Regions from separate parts of the Homo sapiens genome. Here regions 2, 3, 4 and 5 are each linked to region 1. Evidence: promoter capture Hi-C in 16 types of primary human blood cells and fetal thymus (Javierre and others, 2016). All regions are on one chromosome and are shown on one strand. The core of a region is centred on a gene start or on the middle of the fragment in contact, and the rest is flanking DNA. Distances in the headings are between cores, read along the strand shown.

Region 1 (2,821 bases), core at 228-2,727:
TGGGCGAGGGGAACCTGAATCCATGCATCATTTTGAGATGTGGCTTGAGGTTTTGGTCTGGCATGCCCTTTCTCTGGATATTTGAGAAAGGCAGAAATCATTTAAATAGCATCTCATTTTCCAAAGCCCATCTTCTAAAAGTCATGCTGATTTCACCCTTTCTTCCCTGGCCTTTTCCTTAGTACCATCTTCCTGAGGATACAACTGGCCCACTCATCAGCCTTCTAGGTAAGTGGCACAGGCTCCAGCTACCTTAAGTGGACTACCTGGCTTCCCTGCTCACTGATAGGGTGTCCTGGGACCAGGCACTCGAACTCGGTAGGGTTTAGTTTCCTTGACGGTAAAATAGAAAAGTAAGCCTGTTTCACAGCACTTCCCTGAGGATCAAATGAGGCACAGTTTGAATTGTTCCCACACAGAGTAAATAAAGGCAGGTTCCCTCCTGGCTGCAAGATAAAAAATGGGCAGGGGAATCTCCCTTGAAGAACTGGCACGCTCCTTTCTTTCAGCTAATGCCCACCAATATGTCCATTGCTGTTTGGGGTGCAAGAAATTTTAGGCTCAGTAAGGACAATTCCTCCCAATGGTTTGGATAGGGCTGTCAGAACTAAATTCAAGTTGTTCGAAGTCTCCTTCCGCCCGCCCTGCCAACTTGCCTCCCTCTTCACCCTCCTAATAGGAGGTGAGCCCCTCCAATAGCGATCATTAACTCACCCTAAGGTTATCCCCTTGCTGCAACAACCCGTGAATTGCAGGTTCATTCAATGCTCTTTAAATTATTTTTAAAGGCTTTTTTTTTTTTAAGTAGCAAAAGAATGCATGACACCTATTGTAAACTGGCAAGTTGAGGGGGTGGGATGCCGCTCAGACGTGTACTGAGAAAGGTGATAATGAATTTGGCGTCAGCAATTCTTCAGAAACTATAAGAAAACACCCAGGTGTTCGAATTGGTCCCAAAAGGGAAACAAATCCTTCCCAGCTTTCACGATGCGCTGAGGTTGGTTTTCTCAGTGCTCCTCCCAGATCAGGAGGTGGGGAACCTCGTGGCAAGCCCTGGGGCTCGGGATTCCCGGACTGTGGGCCTGGGGGAGAGAGGCGGCTCTCGTGTGCACACTTACCCCGCCCCCACAACACACACGCGGTCACGCACCACAGACGGGCACACGCGCTCAGCACAGCCACAGTCGCGTGCAACCAGGAGTGCACACCGCACCCACATCACACCGCATGCACAGACGCACGGGTGTGAGACCACACACCTCGGCCACTCACGCTCACACGCCCCCCACGCGCTCGCACACGCGCTCGCACGCGCACTCCCCGCGCACCGCCGCGCGCACACGCGGGTCCCGCCGGACGGCGAGGGGCGGGGCGGGCGCGGGCGCAGGCGCGGGTGCCCAGCCGGGCGCGGTCGGGAGAGGGCGCGGCGCGGGGTTCGCGGCTGGCGCTTGAGTTGTTTGCCGGCTCCCGGGCCGCCAGACGCTCGGAGGGAGCCCGGCCGGCTCGGACTGGGCGGCCGGGAGGGAGGGCGCCCCGGGTCACGACGGCGCCCGCAAGCCGAGCGCGGCCGGGACGTGCACCATGGACCCAAAGGCGGGCGGCGGCGGCGAGGAGGACGACTGCGTGGACTCGGGCGCCGAGACCGGAGGGTGAGCCGCGCCGGGCCGGGCCGCGGGCGGGGGGCGCTCTCCGAGTTGCGCGGCGGCTCCTCCCCGGACGGGGACCCTCCTGATCCGTGCGACGGGACCGGGGCGCGGGGCTTCTCCTCCTGCCGGATCCCCCGCTCTCTCCTGGGCGGGCCGCGCTGCCCTGGGCAGGGCGGGCACCACCCGGGGGGAGGAAAGTGGAAGGACTCAAGGTTCAGTGCAAGCCCACCCATCCTGTGAGGCGATGCAGAGCGCCAGGCGGATGCAAAGACCCCTTGTCTGCATCGCTAGAGACAGGAGATGCTCTTGCACTTGTTTCCTCCTTCCTCGGGGACTTTCCTCCTGTAGCTCCGGAGCCCCCTGGAGTCCGGCCCTGGAGATCGGGAGAGGAAGAAAAGCAGGGTGGGACACCCGCACCTAAAAGTCTTTCCGAAGTCGGCTAGGAGGATGGCATTTCTCGTTATATGGCTTCATCGTGGGACTTTAATCTGTGCTGCCGAGTCCCCCTCCCCGACTCCTCCAGTCCCGCCGAACTTCCTCACCTCTAAGTGCACCTGTCCCAGCTGGACCCTTTGGCCTGTTGTACCGGCGGGATGGAGATGGTGTTGGGATTAGGATCTAGCCCTGCCTTTTTTTTTTTTTAATATTCTCTTCGCTTCAGCGGACTCAAACAATGGGCTCAAACCTTTGGAGACTAATTAGTTAGTCTCCAAACACTGTTTTCCTGAGCGGAAGAAAAGACAAAATGCCTTTTAGGAGATGAATGTCGTTATAAAGGCTTCCAGGCAGCCTCTGTCTCTAAAGGACTTTCCTGTGCAGAGTCAGCACCACATCCAGGCCGCGGGTACTGACCCAGGAGGAAAGGGTGTTTTTTCCTATCTGGAGTAATCCTGGGGGAGGGCGGGAGCTGCCTAGACTACAGAAAGCCTCATTCCTGGAAGGTCGGAGAGGTTTTAGACTAATCTCAGGATTTGGCAACCCTGTGAGGGCAGGTAGAGAATCCAGGCCCACGATCGACCCAGAGTTCTAACCCAACCCCGGCAAAGCTCCCCACAGGGCCCCTCCTGCCCCACCACTCCTAGCCCAAATGCGGGACTTTACTCCCTAGGGCATTCACCCAGCAATGGGCTTTCTCTGTTATCCAAACTTATTCATAGCTCTCTACAGCACCCAAT
Region 2 (2,700 bases), core at 140-2,639, 850 kb after region 1:
CCATGTGATGTATTTTTGGTTGATGAAAGCTTCATGCATTTGAATTAGAAAACTGGGAATATCCTTGAGCCCCTTCTCTTCCTCAGTTCCCACACTCAGTATCTATTCTCCCTGCACCACTCTGGCTCATGCACTTGGACTCTTCTCCTGCCTTCAGTCTTGCCCTCCATGCCATCCTTTGCTCTGCAGCCAGCATGATCCTTCTCAATCACAAAAATGATGGCATGTGAAGCCCTGGAGGAGTGCGGACCTCCCTGACTCTCCACCCAGCTCGCACTTCAAACAGTGATTAACATTTCAGGCTCAGAAAACATGTTTTGTGACTTTTTTGCTCATAACACTTCTGTGATATTGAGAACAGGGCCCAGATTTCATTCATCTTTGAGCTCCCTACCAGTGAGCAGTCTTTGGCACAAAGGAGATCCTCAATAAGATGCCTGCTGAATGGAGATTTTTCCAGAAGGAAATGAGGCAGAGAGTATTCCAGGAAGAGGAAACTGAGCCAAGTCAGTTCTGTAAATGCTGTAGGAGAAAATGGGCATTCCAGCTGTAGGAGAAAATGGGCATTCCAGCAGGCTGTATGGATCCCATTTTCCATGGAAGGAAAGAGGCCATGCTGGGATGAGAAAAGTGGGTCACAGCAGAATTAGGCCATGTAGTGTTAAATGTGATAATATGTGGAATGGACCTTATTCTGCAGGTATTATCCAAAAAAAAATCTGAGCAGAGTAATAATATGCCAAGATAACTTTAGTAACTGATATCGTTTGGCTGTGTCCCACCCAAATCTCATCTTGAATTCCTGTGTGTTGTGGGGTGACCCAGAGGGAGGTGGTTGAATCATGGGGGCGGATCTTTCCCATGCTGTTCTCGTGATGGTGAATGAGTCTCACGAGATAAGATGGTTTTAAAAAGAGGAGTTCCTCTGCACAAGTTCTTTCTCTTTGCCTGCTGCCATCCATGTAAAATGTGACTTGCTTTTCCTTGCCTTCCACCATGATTGTGAGGCTTCCCCAGCCATGTGGAACTGTAAGTCCAATTAAACCTCTTTCTTTTGTAAATTGCTCAGTCTCAGGTATGTCTTTATCAGCAGCAAGAAAATGGACTAATACAGTAACCATTTAGAGAATGAAGGGGAAATACTAGAGAAAGAAGGTCACATAAGCAAATAAGGCAATACAGCAAGGGGAAGGAAAAGGGAAAATGAAAAGACAGCACTTAATTTAGGCACCTAGTATGTGCCAGGTCGTTTATACATCAAAACTCACTTTGGTCCTCACAATTACCCTGTGTGGTTATTCCTACTACTATTATCCCCTGTTCCTAAGGTGAAACTGAGATTCAGTGTTGGAATAACTTGTGAAAGAAAGGTCACATAACCAGAAGGTGGCAGCAACAGCTGAGATTCAATTCCCATCTGTCTCTGAAGCCTACACCACACTACTGAGAGATGACAGAGCCCTAAACCAGTAACAGAGAGAATGAAGGAAGAGGAAGACTCCAGAGACATCTCAGAATAGACACTATGCTAAGGGTGCACCCTGGTGACAGCACTGACTGTGAAGTTCTCATAAGATAAGTAAACAACAAAAAGGGAGGGGTCCCAGGTTGGGGGTGGGGATGGGGGAACAACTGTTCTGAGAGATGACTCATCACAGACAAGCTGCTGTCACATCCTGTTCCCAAATACCTCATTCCTTCCACATGTAGCCCAAGCAGCAAAACCTTATCTGCACACCTTATCAGCATGTAGCTCCTCCAATATGACCCTATAAAACTTCCCTCTAGCCCCTGCCTCTTAGCAGACAGCCTCTTCTCTGCTGTGCTGCCCATTGCACTCTTGCAACGTATCTCTGTACTTTAATAAATCTGCCTTTCTTTACTTACAATTGTGTTGATAAATTCTTTTACTGCCCACAACACTGGCCCCAGCCAGTTGCATCTGTGACACTAACCAAAATAAAGGGTCACTGGGAAGAGCACAGAAGAGCTTGACTTTACACAGCTGAGTTTCAGATACTGGCAACACTTGTCCATGGAGCTTCCCAGAAGACAATGAGAAAGACTGGTAAGTCTGGAGCTCCTGGGAGAAGCCAAAGCTGCAAGAGGGAGTGGGTATGGAGCAGGAGAGGAGGGCTGGATCTCAGGGAGTGTGGCCACTGCATGGGTGGCAGGAGAATAATAAGTGTGTTTCTGCCTTGCTTAGAGAGGGCAGAAAGGGGTCAAGTAACAGTGGAGCCGAGGCAGATGCATGGGGACAGAGTTCAAAATGGGTTGCTAATAAAACAGTTCCTTCTCATTTACAACTTTCAAGAAACACATACCTGCTTCTGGGCAGTGAAGTTTTTCAAATGCTTTGTCTGTATAATCTCCATGCTCCTTTACACATTCATATTCCTTAAACTTCATGCCATCCTCAAAGGTCAAAGTTTCATTTGGTATATCCATTGCCTAAATCAATTCCACAGTGTTTCATGATAAATTAGCCATATTTTGAAAGAAAGAAAAACCATATTTTCGTGTTCCTAGTAAAATTAATTAGCAAGGTATATAGTAAATATTCAACAAATGTTTACTAAACAAATAAATCCATAGAGTTTTAAAACTAGAGCTATGTTAGATAAAAACAGAAATGTTTTCATTTCTTCTCCATGTTAACAGTGTCAAGCACTGGTCATAAGGCAACTTAATTTTATCTAG
Region 3 (2,700 bases), core at 55-2,554, 570 kb after region 1:
ATGTTACCCATGGAGATAACTGCTAGACGAAAGTCTGGAGCCAGGTACTAAGGTGGGGCTGAACTGCAACCAGAAGCCTGGGGAAAAAGGTACACCCTGTTTCTCCCCTAGGCCCTTTGGGAGCATCGTGTCCAGTGGACTGGTGAGCCAGCAGTCTGCTCTACAGTAACCAGTACTCCTTTCCCCAAGCTTAAGCCACACATAACCTCTCTGAAAGATCACCTCAGCATGATATTCACCTCTCTATATGGCCAAACACCTGATCTTACCAAGCCAGCGTGTACAAGCAGCTGAGATCCCCACGTGACCTTGAGCCTTACCTGGTGCCTGTGCTCCCTGGCTCAGCTGGCCTGCCGCACACCTCACCCAGACCCTCCTGCCCAAGGGACCTTCTTTCTTTGATGTTCACCCAACCATGCACGCAGGACCAGCTGCTCCACTGCCCTCACAGCTCTACCACACATCTTTTCTGCTACTGGGGGCTTGCAGGCTTCCACCTCCCACTGAGCAGGGCCTAAGCACTGATTAAACAGAACACACTTGAAGCAGAGAATGTAAGGTTGGGAGTGGTAATAATATTAGTATAAACAATAATGATAATACCAACAATAATAATAGTAGCTACTTCTATTGATTGAGAGCTGTTTGTTCTTAGGATACCCTGAGCTTCCCATCTTGTAGCCCTTATCATGTTATTTCAGTAACATCTAACAGACACCTCTTTCAACAGAGGGAACTGAACGCAGGGATTGATTTCCCAGGTGATTAAGGAAGGTGAGAACTCAACCAGGATTGGTGAAGTAACCCAGAGATTAGTAACAACAGGAAACTACCACCAGCCCTAGGCTCAAGGAACAAAGGGAGAATGCAGTGTGGCCTGAGCCCAGGAACCAGAAGGAAGAACCAGAGAGGAGATTCGCCATCACCAGGGAAGCCAATATCTCAATTCCCCCCTTCCTTTCACCTAGCAATCTTCCTCTAGTAACTGCCATTGGCCAAACCCAGCCAAAAGCTGTCTGGTTGTAGGAGCTGAAGAAACACATACCTTGGGGTTCATACTATTTGTCCCCCAACCCACCCCCACTATGATACAGAGCATGGCGGCCAGGCCCAGGGCAGGCACACACACTTCAAGGAAACTGTTAATCACTTGTATCCTGCACAAGACTGTCTGGGGCTGTGTCTGTCCCAATCACTGTGTCTCCAGCTGTTTGGCATACGGTTCACCCTTAAATACATGTTAAAAAACTAATAAAGTCAAGTTACCCCTATTTTTTAATGAGGAAATGAATGTTCAGGGAAGCTAAGAACTTTGCCCAAGCTCACAGGCCAGAAAGTGCAAAACCAGGACTCGTATCAGAGCCCAACTCCCTCCTTCATACCACGCTTTTGTGTGTGGGCTGCCTACCAAAGGTAGACCAGATGAAGCTGTGGAGTGGGGCCTCTTCATAAGCAGGGAGGGACAGCTGATCCCTGGCAGAGCCTGGAGGAGACACTGAGTCAGGGAAACCACAGACACTGGCATAAGCAGACAGGTACCCTCATCCTGGACGCTCCACCTCTGAGTGCTGGAGGCCACTTATAAACCCGAGAGAGCAGTGAATGTCCTGTGTGTGCATTCAAATCCCGTCAAGTGTATCTGTATGGAGGTGAGGGGGGCAGTAGGCAAGGGCTTGCTTTCTCCCCAGTGCAGGAACATGCTTGCTCCCCTTTTCAGCTCTCTACCCCTCCTAAACATGGTGGAATTAGATATAAGCCAAACAGATCCATATTATCATCATTTTTCATTTAAATATACTTTTTAAAGCCTGTGGCCCACACCACAGCAGGCTGGAATCCAGGCAAACCTCCTCCTGTCCGTGGCCTGAGATTAGTATTCTTGTTGCATCCTGCAGCAGCACCACCGAAAGTTATCAGCAGGCAGACAGCCAGCTTTCAATCTCGAGAACTGCAGCCCGCAGATCGCAGCGGCACTTGCAGACATTAGAGGAAGATTTAGAGACCCTCACACTTGCCGCCAGCACTAAGCCTCTGTAAGGCACCTGATGGCATGAGACTGGGGATTTCCATGAGAAAGGGAAAGGAACAGACACTTGGTGTGAAAATGTTATTTCAAAGTTGATGCAAAATATTCCATCCTAGAGAGGGGCATTCTTCTCTTTGACCAGGGTCCATGCCTGAGGGTGGGTACTGTCTGTCCCTCCCCAGCTTCCCTCCTACAGGCCCTCCAATTGTGGGGTCTCCTAGAGAAGAGGTAGGAATGGAATGAGGATGTTCTTTAGTGACAGTGAGCGAGCAGCCATGACTGAGGGTCCTTTTGGGGGTCAGGGTTTTCCATTCAGGGCAGCCTTATGGCTACACGATGGATCATGGGAATATGATCTATACAGCTGCACACGCCCTGCGACTGGAAAGGCCTCAAGCTTGGTTTAATGTCCTGCCTTTGTTGTGTAGAAATTCTAAATAACTTTTACACAAGGGTCTTGCATTTTCATTTTGCACCGAGCCCCACTAATTATGTAGCCAATCCTGGTTCCAGCTCTTTCAGAACAGAAAGACCACAAAATGTGAGGCAGCTCTGAAGGCTCGTGTCAGAAAGTAGCTCTCATCAAGACCCAAATGCTGCCGGTGTTTCTCTTTATTAGAGCACATCGGGTCAATGCATGGCTCCGTGGCACCCGGGTGACCCTTGCTGTGTGT
Region 4 (2,700 bases), core at 57-2,556, 940 kb after region 1:
TGTATTACTGTTTATCACAGAATTACCAGGAAATCCTAGAAATAATTTCTTCATATAACCAAATCAGTCATACACATTGTCTTCGAAACAATGTTTTTCCAAGATCGATGAGGTCTTTTGAGTGTATATAGATGTGAAAGAAACAAGTCCTTTACTACTATTCTAACACCTGGTATTACACGGTTTAACATGGAAGCCAAGTTTCCCCATGATCTTATTCTTCGTTTCTTCGGGGCTTTATTCTATGCAATGGAGAGTAACTGAAAATTAAGAGCAACCAGACTTCTTAGCTGAAAACCACATTTGATATTTTCTGCCCACATTTGCCTGTTACTCAATATTACACCCATATGATCATTACAAGACCTGAATACACTCTGGACATGGCAAAAGTATATCGGCCCCTTCGCATGCCTGCAACAATACTTTTAAAAACCTAATAAAGTGATTTGCAAATACCCAGAAGTGGGATCACCAGTGAGATACGGGCTAAGTTCAGAAAGGTCCCTGAAACCACCTTTACAGATGTATAAGTAATGCGAGAAATCTAACATGACTGACTCCATCTTGCTTCTAACCTCACGGGCTAAGTTTTCACCGTGTTGTCGTTTTCTTATTCTAGCACAGAGGCTAGGATAACTGGGAGAGGGATTTCGTGTAAACTTCAAGACAAGGGAAACTGACCCCACCCCTTCCTGGGAACCAACGAAGCCGCCCCGAGTTTCAGAAGCTCTTGTGATTTCATCCCCAGCCGGTCAACTGTTTCAGTTCCCCAGCCCCCCGAAGCCAAAATGCCCTTTAAAACCCTCGCCCCCGAATTCTCGGGGAGACAGGTCTGAGACCCTGTTCTGGTTTGGCCAGCCCTGCGCTTATTAACTTCTTTTTTTGCTGCAACAGCGGTTCTCACTGGTTCTTTCCGGGCAGCGAGCGAGAAGAATCCGTTGAGCCGGGGCCGGCGCCCGCGGGGCAACTGCACCGCGGGGGAGCCCAGTCGCCCCGCTCACCCGTGAGGGCCCTTTCTCCTGGAAAAGCCGCTCCGCCCTGCTGACCCCCACGGCACCGCGCGCCCAGACCCCAAGGCGGCGAGGGACTTGCGGGTTTGCGGCGAGTGGTCCAGACCGCGGGGCGGAAGTGAGGGGCGCGGCCGCGCGTCCGGGGCGCGTCTACCCCTCGCTCCCACTCGGCTCCGCGCCGCGACCACGCGCCGCCCTCCTCGTTCTAGAGGCAGCCCGCCAGGGCGGGGACCACTCACCCGCTTCCCCGGCGACCCTAGTCCACTCCTTGGCCTGGCAACCGGCGGCTTCCGCGGGGCGGGCCCGGCGGGTCGTCTCTCGGGTTGCGGGTGAAGGAAGCCGCCTGGGTCTGGCGGGAGGCACTGTTCTTGGAGTAGCCGGGCCTACGAAGAGCACGTTTTAAAGCTGTTGTTCCACGTTGCGGTGGAACAGTGCTGTTAACATTGAGGGAAATTGTCCCCGACTAACTGAGTTCTGTCTGCAGGTTAAGTGAAAGCCTATGTAGATAAATTTCACGGGCACAGCACTCAGTGCTAGCTAGAACTTACTAGCTATGTGACCTTGGGCAATTGTGGAAGGCGGGATAATGCTTCCGCCTCAGGATGTCCACATCCTACTCCCTGGAACCTGTGCGTTTGTTCTCTTGCTTGGCAGAGGGGGTTAAGATTGCAGATGGAATTAAGGTTGCTTATCAGCGGACTTTAAAATAAGGTGACGATCTTGGAGTGTGTGCTTGGGTAATTACAAAGTAATTACAAGGGTTCTCTAAAGTGGAAGGGGCCCAAAAAGAAGGTCAGTATGAGAAAGCTATTTGAAGGTGGAGGAAGGGGCAACAGCCAAGGAATGCAGCTGGCCTCAAGAAGCTGGAAGAGGAGCAGGCACAGTGTCTCATGTTTGCAATCCCAGTGCTTTGGAAGGCAGAGGCAGGAGAGGAACACTTTAGCCCAGGAGTTCGAGATCAGCCTGGGCAACATAGTGAGACACTCGTCTCTACGAAAAATTAACTAGACATAGCGACGGGCACTGTGGTCCCAGCTGCTCGGGGGATTGGGGCAGGAGGATCACTAGAGCTGGAGAGGGCTCATGATCCCACCACTGCAGTCCAGCTTTGGTGACAGAGCAAGAACCTGTCTCCAAAAAAAAAAAAAAATATATATATATATATATATATATATATAAAGGAGGAGGTGGGAGGTGGAAAAGGAGGAGAAGCTAGAAAAGGAGGGAAAAACAAAAAACAAAAACCAAATTGTTCCCCAGAGCTTCCAGAAGTAACAGTCCAGCTGACCCCTTGATTTTTTTGTTTTTTGAAACAGGGTCTTGCTATGTTGCCAAGACTGGTTTTGAGCTCCCGGGCTCAAGCGATCCGCCCACCTCAGCCTCCTGAGTGGCTGGGACTACAGGAAAACCACCATGCACACTGACGCCTTGATTTTAACCCAGTGAGCTGTATTTCTGAACTTCAGAACTGTAAGGTAATAAATTCGTGTCGTTTTAGCCACTTAGGTTGTCACAGTTTGTTACAGAAGCCTTAGGAAACTAATACAGCAGAGTAACTAAATCCCTCTGTATAAAAGTATAGAACCTACCTCATAGGATTACTGTGAACAACATCTGGTTACCCTTTACTTGTAAGCGCTGAACGTGTTCATTATAACGTGTCAACCAGAGTCAGAGAGACCGAAAT
Region 5 (2,701 bases), core at 112-2,611, 650 kb after region 1:
AGTTGACCCATGGAGTGGCCTGGGCAATGCATGGGCATGCTCCCTGTCCCTGCCCTCACATATTCCCACTCACATAAGTCTCATGGTCCCTGTGTTTCTGTATTATACATTCTTTTTGGGGGGCTTCCTGCTTTCATCTATTTTAAAATTAAAATACCCTAGGGAGTAGTACATTGAATGAATGTACATGAATGTGGTCAAGCAACTTATGTGCCCAACTTTTCTTCTGGGGGTGGGGAGATTAGATGGCCTTTATAGGGAATGCCACACAAATGACCAGAGTGAGGGAGTAAGGGAGTAAGAAACGCCACGACAAATGTGTCCTGCTCCCCCTTTCCTTAGGCCTGGCCTTCACTGTCATTAACACATCAACTTACCTCACCGTAGTGGGTCCCCTACTACTAGACAAGCACTTTCTCATGCACCTCCTCATGTGACCTTCACCACAGCTCTGTGGGCTGGCAGGGAAGGTGCATAAACCCATTGTACAGATGAGGAAACAGAGACCTAAAGAAGCAATGTGAGTGCATGTGGTTCAGCAAGTAGCAAATAGGAGGGCCAGGACCAAAACCCACAGTGTCTGTCTCTTGGTATTGTGGCCCTTTCCTAATACAGCCCTGGGTCACGGGAAGTGACTTGGCTGATAGTGGTGTCAATACTGGGAGAGCCTTAAAGTACACTAGGATTTCACAGTGGCTTGGGGGTGGAGAGCTAGGGAGAGGAGAGGACAGGGATCTTTACAAAGTCAAGGGTGAACAAATACCCTTGGTGCCAGGAGAGTGGGCCGACTCCCAGGAGCAGCCAGGCCTCTGAGGCTTCAGAAGATTGTGGGAAAGCCTGGGTTACTGCATGGCCAATGGAAAAATTGGCGCTGGGAAAGTCTGGGTTCCCTGCAAGTCCTCTGATTCTCAGAGGAAGCAGGGTCAGAGAGCAGTGGGAGCAGCTTTCTCCTTGGTCACACACCCATCCTCAGCTCTCCATGGGTCCCAGGGCAAGGACTTCAGCAAGCCATGGGGAATAGGATGCAGGGTGGAGAGAATTCGATTTCAAGAGGGCTGCCAGGGGCCCACACTCAAGACCTGGACGGTGTGGGCCATTGGATGGTATTCACACTGCAGGAACCCCAGTGCAGAGAAAAGCTGCAGATTCAAAAATCCCCAGAGATTCTGCCAAAGACAAAATTCAGGATGAAGGGAGATGAAAAGTGTACTCTAGACCTCCACAATTGCAGACTCCTTTTATCTGCTGTGGAAAGGAAGTTCTCAAAGCTTGTTTAGCACCTGGGTGAACTCAACCTTTCTTCTTGTTCCCTGCCATCCAACAAGAAGGTGTGCAGCCAGCATCCCTTTGCTACATAAATCATTTAATTCATCATCCACTTATGTATTTATTCATCACCACTGTGCCTTGCCAACACTATGCTATGTTTGGGAACGAGCTAATTCTTGCCTACGGGAAGCTTTCCGTCCAGTGCGGGAGAGTCACACAATCACAATGTCATTATTTGGAAAATCTGGCAAATGCTAGGAGGGAAGAGGCCCATGGGGCTGCCTCTCTGAGAGAGCACTACAGCAGTGCATGTCACTCGAGTGTGCTTTAAACGCTATGCAAAGATGCACAGAGATGAATGAAACCGAGTTTTAGCCAAAAGGAAACCTAAGGATAAGTAAGCTGTGTACAACTAATATCTGGGAATCACCTGACCTTCAGCATTGTTTCACAGATAGAGTGCAGATAACATTCACAGAAACATCTCCTAACTTCTGGGCTTTTATTAATACTGTTAGCACAAATGCAGATAGATTTCTCCACAACCTCAGCAGCAGCCAAAGCTGGCTTCCCTTAGCCAGCACCTGTGACAGCAAGGCTGAACTCCTGAGAGAGTTCCTGGGTCTTTCGTAAGACAAAGCACAGGCAAATATCTATGGAGTGGCTCAGTCTCCCTGCTTTGAGCTCCTGGCAGGGAGAAATGTCATTTATGGTGTTTCAGAGTCCTGCTCATTTAGCTGAGTTCCAGACTCGAAATGAATCATCTTTTATTCCAAAATCATAATGCAGATACTAGAAGATTCAGAGGCGCCAGAAACAGCATCTATTGTCATAACTGTTGTTTCACCACTAAATTCATCTTCCCCGCAAAGCCTGAGCTGTGCCTCCACCCAGAAGTGCTTACCCAAATTACCCAAAGCTGCCAGAAGGGAAAGGAAATATTTTTGAAATGCAGTGGGTTCTCCAGTGTCTTCTCTGGTTTAAACCATCTGTGGTTTATCTCCAGGAAAGGGGCTACTCACCCAACCCCTCTCCACCTTGCCATCCCTAGACTCATGCAAGAGTTTAGATAGAGAAGGCATCCCACTGGCTGTCTAGTTGAACCCCCTTATTTTGTAGATGAAGGAACAATGCTCAGTGAAGAGACTTTGGCTGTGGTAAGGAGTGGAGCTGTGTCATGATCAAGGTCTGACTCTAGTTCATCTATTGCTCTCTCCATCCTCACATTATTAACCTCAACAAAGCTATTCCTCATTGCCCCGAGGAGGGTGGACCATGTCCTAAGTTCTTATGTGCCAGCATTAGACGTCGTGCTATCAAGAATTATCTTGTCCCTTTAAACGGTATCAATGGGGCTAGCTCCACCCTTGTCCCTAAATTAAAACTCGAGTAGACACCATGGATTCTTCCAGTCACTTTAAGTTAAAAAACC

What was found. Contacts are between HindIII fragments. The CHiCAGO score rates a contact against its expected background, and 5 or more counts as called.
Region 2: a fragment that was not itself captured here is called in contact with the fragment with the promoter of FAM124A in region 1 in 1 of 17 cell types (neutrophils); the score reaches 5.5 in neutrophils.
Region 3: a contact is called between a fragment that was not itself captured here and the fragment with the promoter of FAM124A in region 1, in 3 of 17 cell types (fetal thymus, activated CD4 T cells and naive B cells). The highest score is 8.0, in fetal thymus.
Region 4: a contact is called between the fragment with the promoter of NEK3 here and the fragment with the promoter of FAM124A in region 1, in 4 of 17 cell types (non-activated CD4 T cells, activated CD4 T cells, naive CD4 T cells and 1 more). The highest score is 5.8, in non-activated CD4 T cells.
Region 5: a fragment that was not itself captured here is called in contact with the fragment with the promoter of FAM124A in region 1 in 1 of 17 cell types (total B cells); the score reaches 5.0 in total B cells.

Annotation. Positions count from the first base shown.
Region 1 is chr13:51,220,921-51,223,741 of GRCh38, forward strand. It overlaps FAM124A (family with sequence similarity 124 member A), which reads left to right and starts at 1,478. Exons shown (of 4, transcript NM_001242312.2): 1 at 1,478-1,649. The coding sequence starts at 1,582. RefSeq lists an enhancer at 626-1,416 and silencers at 1,197-1,246, 1,367-1,426. The HindIII fragment of the contact is 7,882 bases long and covers 1-2,821 here.
Region 2 is chr13:52,069,620-52,072,319 of GRCh38, forward strand. NEK5 (NIMA related kinase 5) reads right to left here. Exons shown (of 24, transcript NM_001365552.1): 20 at 2,325-2,451. Among named protein-coding and RNA genes, the nearest start is that of UTP14C, 46 kb to the left of the region's middle. The HindIII fragment of the contact is 2,725 bases long and covers 28-2,700 here.
Region 3 is chr13:51,794,808-51,797,507 of GRCh38, forward strand. All of the region lies in intron 2 of DHRS12 (dehydrogenase/reductase 12), which reads right to left. Among named protein-coding and RNA genes, the nearest start is that of DHRS12, 8.0 kb to the right of the region's middle. RefSeq lists an enhancer at 2,246-2,700. The HindIII fragment of the contact is 2,234 bases long and covers 188-2,421 here.
Region 4 is chr13:52,158,291-52,160,990 of GRCh38, forward strand. NEK3 (NIMA related kinase 3) reads right to left here and starts at 1,307. Exons shown (of 16, transcript NM_002498.3): 1 at 1,253-1,307. RefSeq lists silencers at 994-1,103, 1,184-1,243. The HindIII fragment of the contact is 6,327 bases long and covers 1-2,700 here.
Region 5 is chr13:51,866,774-51,869,474 of GRCh38, forward strand. It overlaps a transcript of TMEM272 not described here. Among named protein-coding and RNA genes, the nearest start is that of CCDC70, 6.2 kb to the left of the region's middle. The HindIII fragment of the contact is 191 bases long and covers 1,267-1,457 here.